Regions from separate parts of the Homo sapiens genome. Here all the other regions are linked to region 1. The links are contacts of gene promoters, found by promoter capture Hi-C in human tissues and cell types (Jung and others, 2019). All regions are on one chromosome and are shown on one strand. Each heading gives the region's core, a stretch centred on a gene start or on the middle of the fragment in contact. The rest is flanking DNA. Distances are from core to core; before and after follow the strand shown. Region 1 holds the start of ZNF670 (zinc finger protein 670). Region 2 has its middle 9.5 kb from the start of MIR3916. Region 3 overlaps ZNF695 (zinc finger protein 695). Region 4 holds the start of ZNF124 (zinc finger protein 124). Region 5 has its middle 24 kb from the start of ZNF124.

Region 1 (2,596 bases), core at 26-2,525:
GAGTTCATGAGAAAACGCCATTTTTAATAGAAGAATGAGAACTAATACCTGTAGAGAAAATAATTAGAAAACCACTATTTGGCAACTCTCACTGAGATAAGTGAAATTAAGAAATAGTAATCAATAAATAATGAACAGTTACATGAAAGGAACAGGCAGACATTCCCGAACAACCTTAAAATAAAGTGGTAAAACCAGACACGTGTATCCAAATGTGCAGGCTGAATTGAAACATGCTGGAAGCTTAATATATAGAGTGATTTTTCATTAATAATATATCGATTGTAAGGCCGTCTGAGCAGGCTGCGCCATGGTCAAGCCATTGTGATCCCTGTGACCCACACGTGTACATCCAGAAGGTCCTGGAGCCAGAAAGTCTGGGACAACAGGAAAACCACAAAGGAAGAAAAACGGCTAGTTTCTGTCTTAGCTGATTAGCCAACCTTGCAGCATTTTACCGTTGTGACGTGCACTACCCTAACTGATCAATCAGCCTAGTGACACTGTGACCCCTCCCTCTTGTGACAATGTACTTTGTGACATTCTTCCCCCGCCGGTAATAAACGGCCCCTGACTGTAACTTTCCACTGCTTACCCCTCACCTATAAAACTAACTCCAATCCCACGACCCTCCGCTGACCCTCTTTTCGGACTCAGCCCGCTCGCACCCGAGTGAGTAAACTAGCCTTGCTGCTCACACTTAACCTGTTTGGGTAGTCTCTTCAATTAGGCGCGAGCTTAACATCGATCATATATTGAAACAATATTTTTGGATATATTTGGTTAAATAAATCATTGTAATCAATTTCACGTGTTGTTTTCTTTTCTATTGCTACTGGAACACACGCGGCTCACATTTTATTTCTATGGGGCGTTGCTACCTGAGAGGACATTGTCTTTTCAAAATTCAAGCTGCCTCTAATCCCACTAGAAGCAAGAAAAAAAAAAAAATTCAGGCTGCCTCCTCAAAAGACCAGAGGCCAGGAAGGTTGTGAAATCTGAAATTTTAGAATAATTGTCATCATAGTGTTTCCAATTGTAAATATCACAAATATTACTCATAAATGGACATAATCCTGTGTATGAGCTTGAATGGGAAAGTCCCCCGGGGGGCGCCAGGTCTCAGCACAGGGCAGAATCCATGCCTTAGAAAAGGACTGCAGGGAAAGAACCTGGCCTCACTCAGCGCCGTGTCTGATTGCATCTCCCGTCACTCAGGACTGAAGGGGCGGGGCCTAAGGCCCTGTCCAATCGGGCGCTGGGAAGGGGACTGTACTCTCAAGCGCGCCGCGAAAGGAGGGAGCAGCTTCCGGGACCTGGCGCGGCTTTTGTGTTGGGCAGCGCGAATGTGGCGAGCTCGGTGCGTCTCCGCTGCTCCTTCCCCTTATCCCTGGGAGGTCCAAGTGGTCCCGCGGCAGCTTCTGTTGCTCTGGGACCTGCAGGTCCCGGAAGGTCCTTAGGGAGGACCCCAGACACCGGAGACTGGGAAATGGTGAGTGTGCCGGCCAGGTGTCTCGGGAAGGGGAAAAGGGAACCGCCAGGAAGCGGTTGTGGCGAACCCGGACCTCCCCGCGGTGCCGACCCGAGTTTCCGCCGGCGCCTCGCGGCCTTAGTGGCACAGGATGCGGGGCTGGACCCGCAGCCAGACCCCGGGCCGCCTGGCTTGTCCCTGCCCCGCCGCTTCGGCCAGGCCCGGAACCCTTTCTGGGCAGCTCTGCCTCTGTAGACCCGCATCTCCCTCGGATCGTGCGGTGCCGACGGGAGGGTCCTCAGGGGAGAGTCCCGACTTGGGGTTCGGGGTTCCTGCGTGGGAGGAGCTGTGGTCTGTGAAGTCTCCAAATCCTCCTTTCTCCTGTTAGAAAGAAAACTGAGGCGCCGTTAAAATATTAAGGAGTTTATTTGAGCAGAGAGTCGTGAGTTAGGAAGCCACCAGCGTGGTTTGTGGTTTGGGGAAGGAAAGGGTTTTTTGTAAGGAACCCGAGGAAGCAAACCCAATTAAATAATTGATCGTGTACAGTTATGTAGTCACCCCATATAGACTGTGCAGCCAGATATCTCCTGGTTATGTAACCAGAGGTTAATTGGTGGGTTCGTGGTTGTTTAAGGCTGTTTTGTTTCCCTTTAAGTTATTAATTTACAAGACAAGCATGAGTTACGTTTTGGTTGGTTGTTTATTCATTCATGTGTGTATGTACATGTGTATGATGGAGTCTTGGACTCGGGCTCAAGCGATCCCCCCACCTCAGTCTCCCTAGTGCCTGTGTTTAATTATTTTCACATAACACTCCACATTTCTAAGTGTATGGCAACAGGATCTCACATCAACGACCCTGTTCCCACAGCCTAACTCTTCTGGGGCTTGTAGTAAAACCCTAAATTTCCAATTCTTTTCCTATATTCAAATGCAACATTATCAAGTATTTGTCTTTTATTGTACATTTCATACAGATGAAGTGTGTTATTTTTTTCAGAGTAGTGAGTCGTTCTGAAAATATTTGTTTTCACTCTTAAAATATTTCTGAACATTACACATGAGTGGAAAGCAGAAAATAATCACCTGACAGTTAATTGTAGAAAAAAAAAGTCTTTGTGCATC
Region 2 (2,596 bases), core at 34-2,533, 110 kb before region 1:
CCATTTGATATTAATGTCAAAAATTATATCATTTTATATTGTGCATTTATTAATAGATTTACAGAGATTTACGTTGTTTTTCACATTCTGCAGAGTTTTTGGTTTTATGTAACATTGGACAAGTCTATATCTGTGTATATATTTACCTTTAACAGCTTTATATTTTCATATGAATTTATGATGTTCTCCAGCATCATTTTATTGTTCAACATAATGGACTGCTTTTATCATTTCTTGTAGGACTGTACTAGTAGCAGCAAACATTCTCAGCTTTTGTTTATCTTGGAAGTCTATTTTTCACTTATTTTTGAAAGTAAATTTTTTTTACATCAAGTATCCTTAGTAATATTTTGGTTTTATCTCATTGAAAGTTTAGAAGTTCTCAGCCCCCCTCCCCTTTTTTTTTTTTTAAATAACTTACCGCTTTTCACCTATATCTTCTAAGTCTCTTTTTATGGATATATTGGTCTACTGAATGGTTTCTATTAAGTCCAATATTCCATCTTCATTGTTTTCCATTTTTAAAATTTTGCTTCCACAACTCAATATTTATAAATGATATGTCTTCAATTTGCTGATGTTTTTTCTGCCTCATTAAGTCTGCTGTTTTGGCTCTTCAGTTAATTTTTCAACACAGTGTATTTTCCAGCTCAACAATTTTAGTTGGGTTTTTTTTTTTTTTTTTTTTTTTTTTTTTTGTTGGGGGCAGAGTCTTGCTCTGTTGCCCAGGCTGGAGTGCAGTGGAGTGATCTTGGCTCACTGCAACCTCTGCATCCCAGGTTCAAGCAATTCTCCTGCCTCATCCTCCTGAGTAGCTGAGATTACAGGTACCCGCCATTACGCCCGGCTAATTTTTTGTATTTTTAGTAGAGACGGGGTTTCACCATGTTGGCCAGGCTGGTCTCGACCTCCTGACCTCGTAATTCACCTGCCTCAACCTCCCAAAGTGCTGGGATTACAGGCGTGAGCCACCACACCAAGCTTAGTTGGGTTCTTTTTTATAGGTTTTTTTTTTTTAAAATCTCTTTGTTGATGTATTATTTTCCTCATGCATGGTTTTCTGTTTTTTTTTTTTTGTTTTTTTTTTTTTTATAAACAGGGTTTCACTCTCTCATCCAGGCTGGTGGTGTGTAGCGGTATGATCATAGCTCACTGTAGCTTCAAACTCCTCAGCTCAAGTGATCCTTCCACCTCAGCCTTCTAAGTAGCTGGGACTATAGGCATATACCACCATGCCTGGCTAATTTAAAAAAAAAAATTGTAGAGACAGTCTCACCGTGTTACTCAAGCTGGTCTTGAACTCGGTCTCAAGCAGTTCTCCCACCTCAGCCTTCCAAAATGCTGGAATTCCAGGTGTGAGCTTCTGTACATAGCCAGGATTTATTTTTAAATGAACAACAAGGAGAGTATTTTACTTTATGTAAACCATAATGCTCTTGTCACCATGCCCAACCTGATTTTGTAGAGTTATCTATATGTGTTCTACTTTTGGTCATTGAACATGTTTAAGATGATTACTTTAAATTCTTTGTCAAAAAAATGCAAAAATCTCCCTTTTTTAAGGGTCAGTTTCTGGAGATTTGTTTCTTCAAGTAGGGCAGGTTTCCTATTTTCTCTGTGTGCCCCGTGATCACATACACAAAAATAAAATTCTATAGTACTAGAATGATGGTATATGAAACAACTATGCTCTGGTAATCTCATAGAAGCATGCTTATAGATGACACATTGCTTTTCCCTTTCTGTTTTTGAGATTCTCTTCTCATCTGTAATTTTTTGAAACTGCTTATAATGTATCTTGTTATGTGTCTGTTTGTGTTTATCCTATTTGAAATGTGTTGAGCTTCTTAATTTTTTTTTTTTACATTTGAGAATTTGTCAGGGTTTCTCATTTTCTTAATTTCATGTCTGTTTTCCTGTTTTACTCATTGGGCATTATTCAAATGGTTATCTCAGATTTTTCAGGTAACTTATACATCTCCATTTCTTTAGGGTTGATTTCTGGATATTTATTTATTTATTTATTTATTTATTTATTTATTTATTTATTTTTTTTTTGATTGAGCCATGTTACCCTAATGTATATGTTGCAATCTTTGGTTGAGATTTGGGCACTAAAAGCCATCTGTCAAAATCTTTATAAAATGGCTTTGTCCTGGATAATCTGATACCAAGTGACTTGGGCTAGGGTTTCCATGAGCCTCTCAAACCTATTCTCAGGATGTATGTTCTCTGGAATTTTGTGTTTAATTTCCAGTTAAAGAGGTTTACCCTTGTTTCTTCTTTCTTTCTTCTTCTCTAATCAATTATTTGCTAAATCTGTTGTCTGTCTGTAGTACTGCAGCCTCTCTGCTGCTATAACAATTATTTACCTTTGGTCTCAGCAGAACCAACCTTTGAATTAAAGGTTGGTTCTATTCTACCACTATTCCTTTCAGCACTTTGTGTCATGGGAGACAGAAACTAGTCTTTGGAAATTCCATCAAAAGTATGGGCATATGTGCCACTACTGTCTCTATTGAAGGAGAAGCTAGGAGTTGGGAGTTTATTCCTGAAGTCATTATGCTGTGTTTAGGAGAAGAAAGAGTTGTGGTGG
Region 3 (2,596 bases), core at 59-2,558, 94 kb after region 1:
TTTTTCCTATTGCACATTAAGGTAATAAAATTCAGTGGATTTTGAAATGCTCTTTTTAGACTGTTTGAACTTAATTTGTTTTAATAAGACATTGTTTTAATGTCTTTGGACCGTTGTACATTAAGTGATGCGTATCCTACCACCAACGTTAACCTATCTCACCTTAGTTACGGTTGTAGGTAACAAATGGTAACAATACAATAGTGGGTAACATGGTGGAATAGTATCTCTAATGATCCCTTCTCCCAGTGGCATTAAACTTCAAATAATTTGAAAAATATTGTTCCCACACGTTACACCTTCATTCTGTTTGCTCTTTTTGTAATGACAGTGTCATTATTAAGGCTATAATAAAGCCTATATAGGATTATAATCAAAGACCGTGTATTTCTGAATCTTGAAGGACTATTCACAAAATTTTATTTACATTTTCCTTTTAACATGTGGCTTTTCTGGCCTGCAAAACATATACATGCTTTTAGTTTTGGTTTACATGGAGATAAATACATAAATATACTACTCTAAGGATAAATGTTAGGTGTAAGACAGTTATGAAGCAAGTAATGTGTTTGAAGTAAGTGCATACCTGTTTTCAGAATAAGAGAAAAATGTTGGAACCAAACATAATTTCAAAAGTATGGATAATTTATTAGCAAACTAGAAACCTCAAAAATGTCGAAGGCAAATCTGTTTTCTCTGCTTTGTATTGAAGGCATTTCTCTAAAATCTTATTTTGCAGAATTTCCACATGAAATTCCTGTTTTTACTTTTATGTTGCTCATGCTAGAGCTAACGTATAATTTTCTTGTTCCAAAATTCATGAAGAATTTCTTATGTGATCTTCTCAGGGATTATAATAATGATTTTATGAAACTTATTGGTGCTTAAAAAATAATCTGAAGATGTGAATAATTCCACAGTGAGTGTATTAATTTTCATTGTACTTAATTAGTACATTTCCATTTTTCCATTATTAGAGAACACTATTCGAGCCAACTTTTTTTGTTATTGTTTCTTTCACTTAATTGAGTAATTGAGTTTATTGACTCTATTGGGCAATTTGTTCAGATAAACACTTTGGAGGCTTTATAAGTCATAGGGCTATTTGGCATATAAATGAAGTGAAGAAACATAACGCAGTGCCAGATGTGTAGTAGATGTTCCATAATTAACAATAAATATTCTTTTTGGAGTGAAGTTGTGGCTCCAGGTAAGAGATTGGAAATATCCAGGATGAAGACCTGGCATTGATTCTGCATGCAGAGAAAGGACTTCTCTACCCAGGCTGCACAACTGACTCTCTCTGAAGAGGAATTCTGCTTTTATTTCCAAATTATCTCTGTTTTTTTGTGGTCTCTTTTTCTTTCTTCTCAACTACTTATGCATTCCAGCTCTCCTCCTTTTTTTTTTTTTTTTTTTTAAAACCTGTGTTATGGCTACACTTTCTCACTGTTCTCCACACAATATGTCATCTTATATAGTACTTTGTACATTCTAACAGGAAATTTGGACTTTCTCTTTTTCTTCTTCTTTTTTTTTTTTTTTTTTGGAGACATGGTCTCACTGTGTCACCCAGGCTGGTGTGCACTGGTGTAATCTCGGATTACTGCAACCTCTGCCTCCCAGACTCAAGCAATCATCCCACCTCAGCCCCCTGAGTAGCTGGGACTAGAAGTGTGCACCCCCACTCCTAGCTAATTCTTTTTTTAGTAGAGATGAGGTTTTACCATGTTCCCAGGCTTGTCTTGAACTCCTAAGCTCTAGTGACTGACCTGCCTTGGCCTCCTAAAGTGCTGGGATTATAGGTATGAGCCACACCTGGCCTGGAAATTTGAAATTTTTTAATGTGATGATAGATTTTTGTTTGTTTGTTTGTTTGTTTTGAGACTGAGTCTCACCCTGTCACCCAGGCTGGAGTGCAGTGGTGCAATCTTGGCTCACTGCAACTTCCACCTCCTGGGTTCAATCAAGTCTCTTGCCTTGGTCTGCCAAGTAGCTGCGATTACAGGCACGCACCACCATGCCTGGCTAATTTTTGTATTTTTAGTAAAGATGGGGTTCATCATGTTGGCCAGGCTGGTCTTGAACTCCTCACCTGAGGTGATCCACCCACCTCAGCCTCTCAAAGTGCTGGGATTACAGGCATGAGCCACTGCGCCCAGCCAATAGATTGACTTTTAACTGGAGAGTTTGAGGTCATTTATATTTTACAAAACTGACATTGTGATCATAGCTTACTGCAGTCTCAACCTCCCAGGCTCAGGTTATCCTCTCATCTTAGCTCCCTGGGTAGCTAGGAGTACAGCCACATGCCACCATGCCCAGCTAATTTTTTTTATTGTTTTGTAGAAATGAAGTCTCACTGTGTTTTCCAGGCTGATCTCAAGCTCCTGCGCTCAAGCAACCCCCCTACCTCAGCCTCCCAAAGTGCTGGCATTACAGGCATGTGCCACCATGTGGCCCAGCTACAAGCAACACATTCTTTTTTTTTTTTTTTGAGACAGAGTCTCGCTCTGTCACCCAGGCTGGAGTGTAGTGGCGCGATCACGGCTCACTGCAAGCTCTGCCTCCCAGGTTCATGCCATTCTTCTGCCTC
Region 4 (2,596 bases), core at 42-2,541, 93 kb before region 1:
CATGTTGATTGCAATTTACCAGGCAAACACAAGGCACCCTGTATGTACTGATTTCCTTTTCCCTTTATGTAAAGTTGGATTTCTGGTTAGACGGTGTTGAGCCATACAGAAGTGCACGTAGACATGCATGTGATTTGTGCTTAAACTCACACACTTAAATTCCACACCACAGGAGGAAACAGAAAACCACAGCCTGACCATTAGGGCCAAAGCCAAATTGCAAAATGAGAAGTTTGTCTTTAATGTATTCCCTCTACATCTAAAGTCCTGAGGTTAAGGCTGTGGACAAATCTGAAGACATGGGTTTTCTTCTCCTGGGGCCCCTCATCTTTTTTTCACTGTCTTATCTATAGAAGAGGCTGGGCCCCTGGCAAGAGCAGGTGGGAAATAGTAGACTCCCTCTAGATACTTCTTTATTGCAGCCCACTTCTCTCTCTGGGCACTGTCTCTGCCACCCTTGGGCCTGAGGAGAGATGTTAGCAGAAGGAGGGCATTCCCTCACCTCTAGCAGAAAAGAGGGGTTCGGGCCCTTCACTCCCTGAGGTCAGGGGAACCAGAGCCCTCAAAACTGCACTTCAGTGTGACAGTCATTGCCCACAGGGGTCTACTTAGCACCTAGAATGTGGCTGGTCTGAATCGGTACATGCTGGAAGTTTAAAACGCAGAGTGACTTTGAAAGATTTAGTACCAAAAAACAGAACAACAAAAAATACTTCATTAATATTATATTTATCATATATTTAAATTATAATATTTTGTATATATTGAGTTAAATAAAGTATTGCAATCAATTTTACCTGTTTATTCCTCGTTTCTGTTGCTACTAGAAATTTTAAAATGACACCTGTGGCTCACATGTGATTTCTGTGGAAATCGCAGCCTTGGAGGATTGCTTCCCTTTTCAAAACTCGGGCTCCTCAGACTGCTTCCTCAGAAGACCAGAGGCCATGAAGGTTAATAAGTCTGAAATTTTAAAAGAATTATTATTATATTGTTTCCTATTTTAAATATCATATATATTATTCACAAATGAATGTAACATTGTATACAAGGTTAAGTGTATATAAATGAATGTCCCCTAGGCAAGGCTGGGTCCCAACCCAGAGAGGAAACCCTCTTGGAGAAGAGCTGTAGCCAGAACGCTGCCTCATTCAGACACGCGCGGGAGCTGTCACCTGTCACTAAGAGTCTGAGGGGGCGGGGCCTGAGGCCCTACCCAATCAGGGGCACCGGGGCGGGGACTGCCTAATCCGGCGCTCCGCTAGAAAACCCGAGGCGGCTTCCGGGTGTGCCCGGCCTTTGTCTCTCGTGCCCGCACGTGCGTGTCTCGGTCAGTAGCCCTGCGCTTCTCCTTCACTCTCGGCGGTTCAGGAGGCTCTGCCGCAGCCGGGGCCCTCCTGTGACCTGCATGTACTGGGGGATTCGCAGGGAGGATGTCGGGACACCCCGGAAGCTGGGAAATGGTGAGTTGCGCCGCCGGGGGTCTGGAGAAGGGAAGGGGCTGTGGCGGCCCCGGGCCCCGGGCTCCCAGCGGTCGGCTCCCGAGGGCGGACCCGGGTCCCTGCTGGCGCGGCGCGGCGCGGCCCTCGGTCCTTTCTGGCGCCCGGCAGAGCTGGGCGGGCAGCGGCACCCCGGGCTCCGGTCCCGTCTCTGCACCGCGACTTCCGTCCTGCCCGAAGCAGCTTCCCTCCCCGGCCCGCGCCCGCAGCCCCGCGGCTCCTCGGGATCCTGCAGTGAGACCCGAGGCGCCTCAGGGGAGAGGCCCAGCGCGGTGTGCGGGCTCGCGCCTGCGAGGAGCTGTGGCCACTGGCGTTTCCAGTCCCTCCTTAATCCTGTTAAAAATTAAACTGAGGTTTAATTAAAGCGTTACAGAGTTTGAGCAAACAGCGATTCATGAGTAGGGGAGCACCCAGCCACGGTTTTTGGTTTGTGGGCCACCGGACGGTCTTGATGGAAAGGCTTCTGTAAAGTGTGTAAGGAAACAAACCAAATTTATTTATTTTTTATTTTAATGATCGGGTGGGGCGGGGGGGGGGTCTCCCTGTGTTGCCCAGGCTGGTCTTGAACTTCTGGTCTCAACCTCCCGAAGTGCTGGGATTACCCCGCCCAGCCCAAAGCAACCCCAATTTAATAACTGATTGGTTATAATTATGTAGTTCTGTTATTCGGATTATTTAGGTGGATGGTTCCTGGTTATGTAATCAGAGGTAAATTGCTGATTTGGGGTTAAGTTTTCTTTCCCTTCAAGTTAATTACAAGAAAGGCATGAAGTACCTTTAGGTTTTCTTGGTGAGGAACTCAGGGCACCATCATCACTTAAGGGAGGAGACCACCCCTCATATTGTCTTATGCCCAATTTCTGCCTCCAAAGAAAGAAGAAGTAAAAACTAAAAGGCAGAAATGAAATCCACAGGCAGACAGCCCGGCGCCGCGTCCTGGGCCTGGTTACAGATTGACCCTTGACCTGACCGGTTGTGTTATCTATAGATTCCAGACATTGTATGGAAAAGCACTGTGAAAATCCCTGTCCTGTTCTGTTCCGTTCTGATTGCCGGTGCATGCAGCCCCCAGTTATGTACCCCCTGCTTGGTCAATC
Region 5 (2,596 bases), core at 65-2,564, 69 kb before region 1:
CATGTAAGGGAATGTTGCTCCCTTTTGGAAGACAATTCTTCATGGATCTCTCACTTCATTTTCCCACATCTTGTATAAGCGTTTCTTCTGGGCTGTCTTTTTCAGGATTTTTTTAAATGAAAGAAACAGACTTGAAGGATGTGTATCTTCAGGTCAAAGGCCAAATAAATACCTGGACAATTTAATAAAGATTATGCCTTTCTCTGAGGCAGTGGTTGGAAGGTTTTCTTTGAAACACATGTTAAAGCACTGGGATTTGTTTTTTTTTTCTTTTTTTTGAGACGGAGTCTCACTCTGTCACCCAGGCTGGAGTGCAGTGGCACAATTTCGGCTCACTGCAAGCTCCACCTCCTGGGTTCACGCCATTCTCCTGCCTCAGCCTCCAGAGTAGCTGGGCCTACAGGTACCCGCCACCACACCTGGCTAATTTTCTTTTTTTTTTTGTATTTTTAGTAGAGACGGGGTTTCACCGTGTTAGCCAGGATGGTCTCAATCTCCTGACCTCGTGATCTGCCCGCCTCGGCCTCCAAAAGTGCTGGGATTACAGGCGTGAGCCACCGTGCCCTGCCAAAGCACTGGGATTTCTTAACCTTGAGATTCCTCAGCTGTGATCAAAATCTACTGAGCAGAAAGCATCCAGTTGGGTCTCTTTGATCATCCCTGTCACTTGGAGTGGACGTGGGGAACAGATACAGATATGGAGCTCTTGCTTCCATTTGTGTGATGAACCATCAAATATTTTTCATCAGGCCTAGGAATCTCATGCCTTCTTCTAATATCCATGAAGTTGACAGTCTTCATTTTTTGGCTTGCAAATAGAAAAAAATCCACGAATGTTCACATTTTTGACAGCTTGGGTGATGATGCGATTGATTCTGATAAATCTATAACCTTATAACCTGGTATAAGAGGAAAGTAGAAAGATTCTTCACAGACCTGGCCAGGGCTTATGAGAAGGCTTCCTGGAACAAGTAGCAAATTCTCTTACCCAAATGAGAGTTGAGTAAGAGTAAGATCCCTCCACTCGCCAACCTGTTAGCGAGGTTGTTGTGTGAGAGGGAGAATTGAAAGGAGCAGTCTAAATGTGCTCATATGTTCATTCTCCTAGCCAAAGTAGGAAAGAATGAGGAGTCCACAAAGCTGATAGAGCACTTTGGATAAATAGAAAATACTGTAAGTTCTTGTGGTTTTGCTGAAAGCAGTCAACAGGCTGCTAGAAACTAAAAGGAAATGTGGGTGTTGGTGCCTTGCTTATAAGCAGAGAATCTCTCTCTCTCTATGTACTCGCTGATACCAAAACTTCACTGACAGGGCTTGGGCAGGGTTCACCATGAAAGCAGAAATGTCACAAAACAATGGAGGTGGGGCCTTTGGGGCTAACTCAATGTCTTCTTGTGTTTCTACACCAAAATTTACAGTTAGAATTTTGTTGTATGTGTTTGTGCTTCCCTGTCCCCTAAGTGCCGGAGGGGATTATTCCAGTCTGGGTGGGAGACAGGTAGAAGAGTGTGAGAGAGACAGAATTCTCCATTTGCCACAGAGGGCAGGTCAGTCTTTATCATGAGAACCTTTACACTCTGATATGCAAAATGTTCACCCTGCATGAGCTGTTAGCTGCAAAGACAGAGGTGTCTGTCTCAGTGCTCCTGTCTAGAATAGTAATATCTCTCTGCTAGTAGATGTAGCTGATAATTGAGACTGTGCTTCAAAAAGTTAAAGAAGCAGCCAGGCGCAGTGGCTCACGCCTGTAATCTCAGCACTTTGGGAGGCCGAGCCGTGTGGATCACGAGGTCAGGAGTTCGAGACCAGCCTGGCCAATATGGTGAAACCCCATCTCTAATAAAAATACAAAAATTAGCCAGGCATGGTGGTGCATGCCTGTAATCCCAGCTACTCTGGAGGCTGAGGCAGGAGAATGGCTTGAACCCAGGAAGCGGAGGTTGCAGTGGGCTGAGATCGTGCCACTGGACTCCAGCCTGGGCAACAGAGCAAGACCCCGACTCAAAAAAAAAAAAAAAAGTTAAGCCAATGACTAACAGAAATCCTTGAGTTTACAGGATGGCAAATTAAAAAAAAAAAAAACTTGCTAAAACACTGAAATTCCCTCCACTTACGAGATAAAAGTAATTAGCTGAAATTGGTTTAAACCAATAGAACCAATGGGACTCTGCACAGAATGAGCTTGCTGACATCATAGCCTGAATTTCCACTATGTTTCCTACTAACTCCCCCCAAATTTGCACATATGACCCATGAGGAAGCATGAAGAGATAACTGGGCATGCCCATGGACATTCCAGACCTCCCATTATCATCCGCTAGTCACCTCCTAACCTCAGAAGCTACCCCCCGGTACCTGTTCTAGTAGAAATTCTGCCTTGATGCCAGCAGAGGGAGACAGATTCGGGCTTGGGACTCCTGTCTCTTTGGGAGTGAACTTTCAACATAAAGCTTGTCTCAAAAACAAAAATCCAGTGACAACTCAATGTATTGGCTCTTAGCACATTGGATAGTAAGCACTGTTTTCTCAATAACAAGAAGACCTGAAAAAAACCCAGAGTTCTGCTTTCCAAATAAGGTTTAGTGAAGCTAAGTGG

Evidence for each region. Contacts are between HindIII fragments. The study calls those that stand out against the background at their distance.
Region 2: a contact is called between a fragment that was not itself captured here and the fragment with the promoter of ZNF670 in region 1, in 2 of the 25 tissues and cell types used here (mesenchymal stem cells and pancreas).
Region 3: a fragment that was not itself captured here is called in contact with the fragment with the promoter of ZNF670 in region 1 in 3 of the 25 tissues and cell types used here (mesenchymal stem cells, mesendoderm cells and neural progenitor cells).
Region 4: a contact is called between the fragment with the promoter of ZNF124 here and the fragment with the promoter of ZNF670 in region 1, in 1 of the 25 tissues and cell types used here (hippocampus).
Region 5: a fragment that was not itself captured here is called in contact with the fragment with the promoter of ZNF670 in region 1 in 2 of the 25 tissues and cell types used here (bladder and spleen).

What each region holds. Positions count from the first base shown.
Region 1 is chr1:247,077,490-247,080,085 of GRCh38, reverse strand. It overlaps ZNF670 (zinc finger protein 670), which reads left to right and starts at 1,275. Exons shown (of 4, transcript NM_033213.5): 1 at 1,275-1,492. The coding sequence starts at 1,490. It overlaps ZNF670-ZNF695 (ZNF670-ZNF695 readthrough (NMD candidate)), which reads left to right and starts at 1,275. Exons shown (of 7, transcript NR_037894.2): 1 at 1,275-1,492. RefSeq lists silencers at 1,241-1,310, 1,099-1,412. The HindIII fragment of the contact is 11,562 bases long and covers 1-2,596 here.
Region 2 is chr1:247,191,256-247,193,851 of GRCh38, reverse strand. No RefSeq gene overlaps it. Among named protein-coding and RNA genes, the nearest start is that of MIR3916, 9.5 kb to the left of the region's middle. The HindIII fragment of the contact is 4,662 bases long and covers 1-2,596 here.
Region 3 is chr1:246,983,105-246,985,700 of GRCh38, reverse strand. ZNF695 (zinc finger protein 695) reads left to right here. Exons shown (of 4, transcript NM_020394.5): 4 at 1-378. All of the region lies in intron 4 of ZNF670-ZNF695 (ZNF670-ZNF695 readthrough (NMD candidate)), which reads left to right. Among named protein-coding and RNA genes, the nearest start is that of ZNF695, 24 kb to the left of the region's middle. The HindIII fragment of the contact is 4,237 bases long and covers 1-2,596 here.
Region 4 is chr1:247,170,715-247,173,310 of GRCh38, reverse strand. It overlaps ZNF124 (zinc finger protein 124), which reads left to right and starts at 1,291. Exons shown (of 4, transcript NM_001297568.2): 1 at 1,291-1,463. The coding sequence starts at 1,434. The HindIII fragment of the contact is 9,791 bases long and covers 1-2,596 here.
Region 5 is chr1:247,146,652-247,149,247 of GRCh38, reverse strand. It overlaps a transcript of ZNF124 not described here. Among named protein-coding and RNA genes, the nearest start is that of ZNF124, 24 kb to the left of the region's middle. The HindIII fragment of the contact is 7,827 bases long and covers 1-2,596 here.